2 separate regions of the Homo sapiens genome follow, and region 1 is linked to region 2. The links are contacts of gene promoters, found by promoter capture Hi-C in human tissues and cell types (Jung and others, 2019). All regions are on one chromosome and are shown on one strand. The core of a region is centred on a gene start or on the middle of the fragment in contact, and the rest is flanking DNA. Distances in the headings are between cores, read along the strand shown. Region 1 overlaps LRRC36 (leucine rich repeat containing 36). Region 2 holds the start of AGRP (agouti related neuropeptide).

What was found. Contacts are between HindIII fragments. The study calls those that stand out against the background at their distance.
Region 1: a contact is called between a fragment that was not itself captured here and the fragment with the promoter of AGRP in region 2, in 1 of the 25 tissues and cell types used here (mesendoderm cells).

What each region holds. Positions count from the first base shown.
Region 1 is chr16:67,329,063-67,333,099 of GRCh38, forward strand. All of the region lies in intron 1 of LRRC36 (leucine rich repeat containing 36), which reads left to right. Among named protein-coding and RNA genes, the nearest start is that of LRRC36, 4.3 kb to the left of the region's middle. The HindIII fragment of the contact is 7,189 bases long and covers 1-4,037 here.
Region 2 is chr16:67,480,738-67,484,807 of GRCh38, forward strand. AGRP (agouti related neuropeptide) reads right to left here and starts at 2,810. Exons shown (of 4, transcript NM_001138.2): 1 at 2,780-2,810; 2 at 2,532-2,664; 3 at 2,288-2,373; 4 at 1,834-2,081. The coding sequence starts at 2,661. The coding sequence ends at 1,899. It overlaps ATP6V0D1-DT (ATP6V0D1 divergent transcript), which reads left to right and starts at 657. Exons shown (of 4, transcript NR_184227.1): 1 at 657-782; 2 at 3,373-3,591. ATP6V0D1 (ATPase H+ transporting V0 subunit d1) reads right to left here and starts at 420. Exons shown (of 8, transcript NM_004691.5): 1 at 220-420. The coding sequence starts at 349. RefSeq lists enhancers at 1-210, 371-420 and a silencer at 531-700. The HindIII fragment of the contact is 1,388 bases long and covers 1,922-3,309 here.

The DNA of each region.
Region 1 (4,037 bases), core at 1,534-4,033, 150 kb before region 2:
CCACGCCCGGCTAATTTTGTATTTTCAGTAGTGACAGGGTTTTGCCATGTTGGCCAAGCTGGTCTTGAACTCCTGACCTCAAGTGATCCACCCACCTCAGCCTCCCTAAGAGTTGGGATTATAAGTGCAAGCCACAGCACCTGGCCAGTATGTATTTTTAAAAGCTAAGATTACTTTAAAAAAAAGTCACATATGCAACCTAAAAAATTTAACAGTAATTTCTTTTTTTGGTTTTGTTTTGTTTTTGAGATGGAGTCTGGCTCTGTTGCCCAGGCTGGAGTGCAGTGGCATGATCTCAGCTCACTGCAACCTCTGCCTCCAGGGTTCAAGCAATTCTCCTGCCTCAGCTTCCTGAGTAGCTGGGATTTCAGGCATGTGCCACCATGCCTGGCTAATTTTTTTGTATTTTTAGTAGAGACGGGGTTTCACCATGCTAGCCAGGCTAGTCTTGAACTCCTGACCTCAAGTGACTCAGCCTCCTAAAGTGAACAGTGATTTCTTGATATCATGAAATATCTAACTAGTGTTCTTATTTCCCCAGTTGTCCTATAATTTTTTAAAATTAGAATCCATGGCCGGGTGCGTTGGCTCATGCCTGTAATCCCAGCACTTTGGGAGGCCAAGGTGGGTGGATCACTTGAGGCCAGGAGTTCAAGACCAGCCAGGCCAACATGGTGAAACCCCATCTCTATTAAAAATACAAAAATTAGCTGGACATGGTGGCTCACACCTGTAATCCCAACTACTTGGGAGGCTGAGGCAGGAGAATCGCTTGAACCCGGGAGACGGAGGTTGTAGTGAGCTGAGATCGCGTCACTGCACTCCAGCTTGGGTGGCAGAGCAAGTCTCCATCTAAAAAATAAAATAAAATAAGAATCCGTATATGGTCCATATATTGCAATTGGTTGATGTATGTCTTAAGTCTTATTTGATCTGTAGGCTCCCCATTTTTTTTCCCTCGCATTTTCAATTGTTTTTGAAGAAACTGGCTTTGAAAGAGTTTACTATAACCTGAACTTTGCTCATTGCATTCCTAAGATGTTAAACATTTTCCCGTGTTCCCTGTACTTCCTATGAATTGGTAGTTAGATGAGGCTTAATCAGATTCAGGTTGGATTTTTTTTTTTTCACAAGACGATTTCATAGGTAATGGTGTATGTTTATGTTAGGAAGTATATGGTGCCTAGTGTTCTTTCTTTTCGTGATATCAGCCACTGAATATGATTACCTAAGTTAATTCATTAGGGATTGCAAAATGGTAATTGTCTATTTCTTTCATTTTTCTTCATTAACTGTAATACTTCTATAAAGAGAAATTTCCTCACATCAACTGTTTGCTTATCCTGAGGTACAGTTTGTATAGGAAAGGCAGCATAAAAGCTTGATTTGTTTTCACCTTATATGCCAGCTTTCAGAATGATGAGTTATTTTCTTAGCATTCTCCAAAGGTGACCAGTGAGGACTGTTTTGCTTTCTCAGTATCATTATAAACTCATCGATTTAAATATATGTCTTAGGGCTGGGCATGGTCGTTCACGCCTGTAATCCCAGCATTTTGGGAGGCCAAGGAGGATGGATCACCTGAGGTCAGGAGTTCAAGACCAGTCTGTCCAACATGGTGAAACCTCATCTGTACTAAAAATACAAAAAAAATTAGCCCGGCATGGTGGCAGGTGCCTATAATCCCAGCTACTCAGGAGGCTGAGGCAGGAGAATCACTTGAGCCTGGGAAGCAGAGGTTGCAGTGAACTGAGATCGCACCACTGCACTTCAGCCTGGACGAAAGACTGAGACTCAGTCTAAATAAATAAATAAATAAATAAATGTCTTAGTCCCTTTTCTCTTGTCATAACAGAATACCATAGACTAGGTAATTTATAAAGAACAGAAGTTGATTTGGCTCATGGTTCTGGAGGCTGAGAAGTCCAAGAGCATGGTGCCAACATCTGGTGAGGGTCATTCCATGGTGGAAGGGCAGAAGGTGCATGTGTGAGATGTGAGAGAGAAAGAGAGAGAGAGAGAGAGAGAGAGAGAGAGAGAGAGAGAGAGAGAAGACTGAACTAATTCCTTTATTAGGATAGCTAACTCCCGTGATAACTAACTCCATGATAACAGCATGAAGCCACCGTTGACCTAATCACCTCTTAGAGGCCCCACCTCGCAGTGCTGTTACATTGGCAATTACGTTTCAACATGAAAGCTGGGCATGGCGGCTTACACACTTTGGAAGGCCAGGGAGGAGGATGAGGCCAGGTATTTGAGACCAGCCTGGGCAACACAGCAAGATCCTGTCTCTACAAAAAATTTAAAAATTAACTGGGTGTTGGTGGTGTGTACCTGTAGTCCCAGCTACTCAGGAGGCTGAAGTGGAAGGATCCTCTGACCCCAGGAGTTTTAGGCTGCAGTGCACTATGATAGTGCTACTGCCCTCCAGCCTAGTTGACAGAGCAAGGCCCTATCTCTGAATAAATTAATACATTTCATCATGAGTTTTGGAGGGGACGTTCAAACCATAGCAATATATTTCAATGTAAGTTTTAATCCATTATAGTTCTTATCATAATTGATGTTCAGTTTATCCTAACTTTAGTTAATAGGTGATCTTTCAAGTTGACTCCTGAGGTCTTTTTAAAAAAGTTTTATGGCCAGGTGTAGTGGCTCACGCCTGTAATCCCAGCACTTTGGGAAGCCGAGGGGGGTGGATCACCTGAGGTTGGGAGTTTGAGACCAGCCTGGCCAGCATGTTGAAACCCCATCTCTACTAAAAATATAAAAATTAGCTGGGCGGGGTGGCACATGCCTGTAATCCCAGCTACTTGGGAGGCTGAGGCAGGAGAATCGCTTGAACCCTGAAGGCGGAGGTTGCAGTAAGCCAAGATCACACCATTGCACTCCAGCCTGGGCAAAGAGAGCGAAACTCCATCTCAAAAAAAAAAAGAAAAAGAAAAAGTTTTATTTATTAGAAACATTCATTGTCATTATAAATAAGCTTTGTTAAAGGTTGTTAATTCAATTTCCAAATGAGCTGTAAATGGTTTTCATTAGAGAGACTACTTGATTTGTTATTTTCAAATAGCAAATTTTTGCCCACTGGGGTTATGTAACCCATATATTAAAATTGGAAGATCATTCTTTTATTCTTGGCATCTATGCTGTGCAGTGTTTGATTTGTTCTCTGATTTGTCTTCACTCTTTATAAACACTGAAACGGCCAGGCGCGGTGGCTTACGCCTGTAATCCCAGCACTTTGGGAGGCTGAGGAGGGCGAATCACGAGGTCAGGAGATCGAGACAACCCTGGCTAACATGATGAAACCCTGTCTCTACTAAAAATACAAAAAAATTAGCTGGGCATGGTGGTGGGCGCCTGTAGTCCTAGCTACTTGGGAGGCTGAGACAGGAGAATGGCGTGAACCTGGGAGGCAGAGCTTGCAGTGTGCCAAGATGGTGCCATTGCACTCCAGCCTGGGTGACAGAGCGAGACTCCGTCTCAAAAAAAAATAATAAATAAATAAATAAACACTGAAACGAAATGCATAACCTCTTAAGACATGCATTCATGTGAATCATTAAAGAATGTTTGTCTTTGTGGCAGTTTATCATTTTAATAATTCACATTCCTTCTTAAAATGTTAAAATGTCTGCTCTTCAAAATAGACTGCAGTGAAAGGCATGAGAAATGCTGTGGGTCATTGATGGAAACCATAATTGTCCTTAGCTTTTGTCCCATGTTAACAGACTCTCAGGGTGTTAGATCATAACATACCACAGAATTACCAATACACTGCCCTCAAAGTCAGGAAAATTTTATTTATTTATTTATTTTATTTATTTATTTTTTTTTAAAAAAAACATGGTCTTATTCTGTTGCCCAAGCTGGAGTGCAGTGGCATGATCATGGCTCACTGCAGTCCCGACCTCCTGGGCTCAAGCAATCCTCCTGACTCTGCCTACTGAGTAGCTGGGACTACAGGTGTGCACCACCATGCCCAGCTAATTTTTTCTTTTTTTGTAGAGATGGGTGCATTTTAAAAAGAT
Region 2 (4,070 bases), core at 1,560-4,059:
GCGAACAACTGCGGTTCTTAAAGCCTTGTTTGAGTTTGGGCCCGCGCCGAGCCACAGCTAGAGGTAGATCCCGCTCCTGCGCGTCCGCTATCAGCCCCAGGATTCCCAGAGAGGCCTCTCAGGCCCTTCAAGACCCCCCCTTCCGGCTTCCCGGCCTACACCTCTGAACCCTCAGGCCCCGGACAGCCTCTATCCCCGCCTTTCGCGGCCCCGGCTCACCCTCTAGCGTCTCGCACTGCACCAGGTTGAGGTAGTCGGCCTGGCTGAGCACCCCGGCCTTCAGGCCGCGCACCAGTCCCTCCAAGTAGCCATTGTCCACGTTAAAGTAAAGCTCCGGGAAGAACGACATGGCTGCTGCGGGAGCGGCGGGACCGGAGAACCAGGACCGGCCGGCACGAATCGCGACTCCCCAGGTCAGCTGACGCTGCGTCCTCAGCGGGCTGTCAAGTGCGTCAGGTGACGCGCAAGCGCCTCACGTGACCATAAGGGGGCGTGGCTCTGAGCGGTGCCCGGCTTCCGGGTGGCTGCGCGGAAGCGCGGTGCAGGCGTGGGCTGGCCCTGCGGCGCCTGCGCGCTAAAAAGAGGAAGTTTGAGGCCGGCCGCTTGGTGGCGCCTGTGGCCGCAGGGATTTGACTGGGCCTTCTCTAGCTTTCCCCGGTTTGCTGCACTTGACGCTGCAGGGCGGGCGGGGTAAAGAAGGGAGCGAGCCCTTCTCAAGCTTGGAAAGTTTCCAGACTGCTGGGCCAGCCTCCTCCCCAGAGGGAAACTGAGGTCCGATTGAGGTAGGAGAATAGGGTCTGGAGGCGGGGAACTTGAGGCCAATACGTGCTGAATTCTGAAGCTGAATCAAGGGAAAACACCAAGGTCTGGGGGCAGGGAACCGGAGGCCAACTAAGGCGAGCTTACTAAAGCTAAACCAAAAAGAAAAACCCCATCTCCCCATGTCCAAGTAACAAAGGATCAAAGGCCACTGTCCCCACAACCCTCCCCCTTCCACCACGTCTCAGTTGAAAGGGAGAGTGCCTTGGATTGGCTGCGGGCCAAGCACGGGCCATCCCTTCATCTGCATAGGGCGCCAATTCACCTTAGCCCCATTTATGCCTTGTGTTCCATTATTGGAACGCTAAGCATATGGGAGTTATTTATATCCTACTGCTCAAGGTCATGGCCAAGGTCTGATTGCAAAAATTCAAAAAGATTGCAACCTCAGGCATAAATGGATTAATTAGCCATGGACCAAACCCTTCATCCAGATAAGGGGTAACGGACAGGGACCGCAAAAGGAGTACTTAAAACCCGGAAAACTTTGTAACTGAGCCCCTTCAGCCTCTTGCTCAGGCCCACTCCCACCCTGCGTAGTGCTTTCTCGCTTTAACAAATCCCAGCTGTCTGCTTCCTTCCTGTGTGTCATTCGTTTGTTACTTTCTGGGTTTTGTTCAATTCTTTGTTCGAAACGCTAAGGACCTGAACAACGCACACTCCTGGCCTTCCCTCTGGTAACAGGATGAGGGGCAGGCTTTGCGTGGAAGTAGCAGCAAGCCCTGGAGCCTAAGGCTTATTTGTTAGCCAGGAGTGATAGCCCCTGTGCCACGCTGCGTCCTGCGTTCCCCGCACTTGCTGTACAAGATTTTCGAAAGCTGGAGTGCGGCTCTTCTCTATTTTTCCCAGGGGCACCAGGACCCCTAAAAGCGCCCGTGTATGTGCCTCCTATGATAGGGTAGCCCAGGCCCTGGGATAAGAGTATGTGTGGTTTCTTGGCTTGGTGACACTCCCACCCCCTCCATGAACCCTCCCTCCTTTGACGGCCACGTTTGAAATAACCACAGCCTTGGGGTTGGTCCCATCCTTTATTCGAGTTTCCTTGCCCCTACCCTAGCCCCGACCCTGACGTTGGCCAGCTAGGTGCGGCTGCAGGGATTCATGGCAGTACCCAGCTTGCGGCAGTAGCAGAAGGCATTGAAGAAGCGGCAGTAGCACGTGGCACATGGGTCACAGCAAGGCACCTGCTGTCCCAGGCAGGACTCATGCAGCCTTACGCAGCGACGTGAGGAGCGGGGCTCGCGGTCCTGCAGGTCTAGTACCTGCAGGGGTGGGGAACCAGCACAGGCCTCTAAAGACAGATCCAGGGATCTTACCTGTCCCAACCTGTGCAGGATGGCAGTGGAGCATGGGAAGGGGTGGTCGGTAGTGTCGTCGCTGGTGAGGGAGTTTGGAGCTGGGGAGAGGAGCTAATACCCAATGCCCCCTCCCAAGGGCCACCACCTTACCCTTTTCCCTGAGCAGTTACCTCTGCCAAGGCCTGAGCCTCCTGCAACAGATCCTCTTCTGCCTGTTCTGCAGTTGTCTTCTTCAGTGGGGCCCGCAGGCCCAGGCCTGGGGCAGAGGATGTGAGGGCAGGAACCCCCATGCACAAAGCACCCACCTCCCAGGGGAGGGTTTGGGAAGGGAGAAAGAGGGTTTATGCCAGGGGAGACTATTTGTGGCCAGAGGGTATTCAGGCCCCGCCCAGTCCCACCCTTGCTCACACTGACCTGGGAGCTCTGGGAGCAGGGCCTGGTCAGGCCTTCTGATGCCCTCCATGGGGGCCAAGCCCATCTGGGCTCCTCGCGTGGCAGGCAGTGCCAGCAGCAGGGCACAGCTCAGCACCGCTGCGGTCAGCATGGCCTGGCTCAGCAGGAAGATGTACCACTTAGTCCCTCCTTATCCTTGGAGTCCCCTCTAGGTGCCCAGATAGAGACCCCACAGAGAGGAGGAGTCCCTGCCCAACCTGAGGACTCACCTCTGCCTCCGGGATTCTTGCCTAGAGAGTTCCCGGCCACCCCGTGCCCTTGGCTTATATGGCAGGGCCTAATGAAGGGCCACACGTGACTGATCCCTGCAGCCAGGCCGTGAAGGACCCTTCCTGGAGGGTGGGGGCACAGTTCAGGCCCTCACTCCCTGAACCTGAGCCTTTTGTTCTACAAGAGGAGTGCCTATCTCCAATTTGGGGTGAGGTTTCCAGGAGCCGATTAAAATTTGGGAGCAAGAGAGGGTGCCCAGGGTCCACAAATTTCCACAGGACAGGGACCTAGGAGCTGAGCAGGGCTAGAACCATTAGCAATAACAAGGCAGGCGGCCCTGAAAGCTTAATTTAATTTGTGGCCCCAGAGATGCTTACTCAACCCCTATGTGGCATGTTGTTTCCTGTGCTTCCAAGAATTCGGGTCAAGGACATTGGAGCGGGTGATGGGCCAATGGCCACTGTTGGGCAGGGGTAGGTGCAGAACCAGAACCTGGGTTTCTTTGGAGGGAAAGGGGAAGGAAAAGCCCACCTAACCAATCCTAGGCCCTCCTGACTACATTTCTGGTCCTCCCCTCCCTTTCTCCCTCCAGGTTTCTCCAAGACCGCCCACTCCTGCTCCTGTCCCCAAACCCCTTTCTGCCTAGGGTTCCTGGAAGCCAAGGAAACAGAACGAACTGTTCCCTGGGTGGGCGAGCCACTGCAGAGTACAAAGCTTTCAGGCCGCCTGCCTCATTAGCACTAATGGCTGCTCCCTTCCGCCCTGTGTCGTCAGGACTGTCTATGCCTGGTCTCATCAGCACAAGGCTGGGGTAAGGACTGCCCTTTTGTGGAGATGGCAGGACATACAGGACCCTGCTGCCCCTGCCTTCCCTCACCCCACTGCAGAGCTGTTTATCACACACGTGTCCATCTGGGAAAGGAATGCAGGCTGAATCAGCTTTGAGAGGATCGCAAGGCCCCAGTGCACAAACTGGGTTGGCACAAGGCAGTGGAAAAAAGATGAAGGGGGCCAGGTATGGTGGCTCACACCTGTAATTCCAGCATTTTGAGAGGCCAAGGTGGGAGGATCACAAGGCCAGGGGTTTAAGACCAGCCTGGGTATCATGGTGAGACCCCGTTGCTACAAAAAATAAAAAAATAGCTGGGTGTAGTGGTGCATGCCTGTAGTAGAGGCTGAGGTGGGAGGATGGCTTGAGCACAGGGATTCAAGAGTGCAGTGAGCTATGACTGCATCACCACACTCCAGGCTGAGCGACAGAGCAAGATCCTGTCTCAAAAAGAAAAGAAG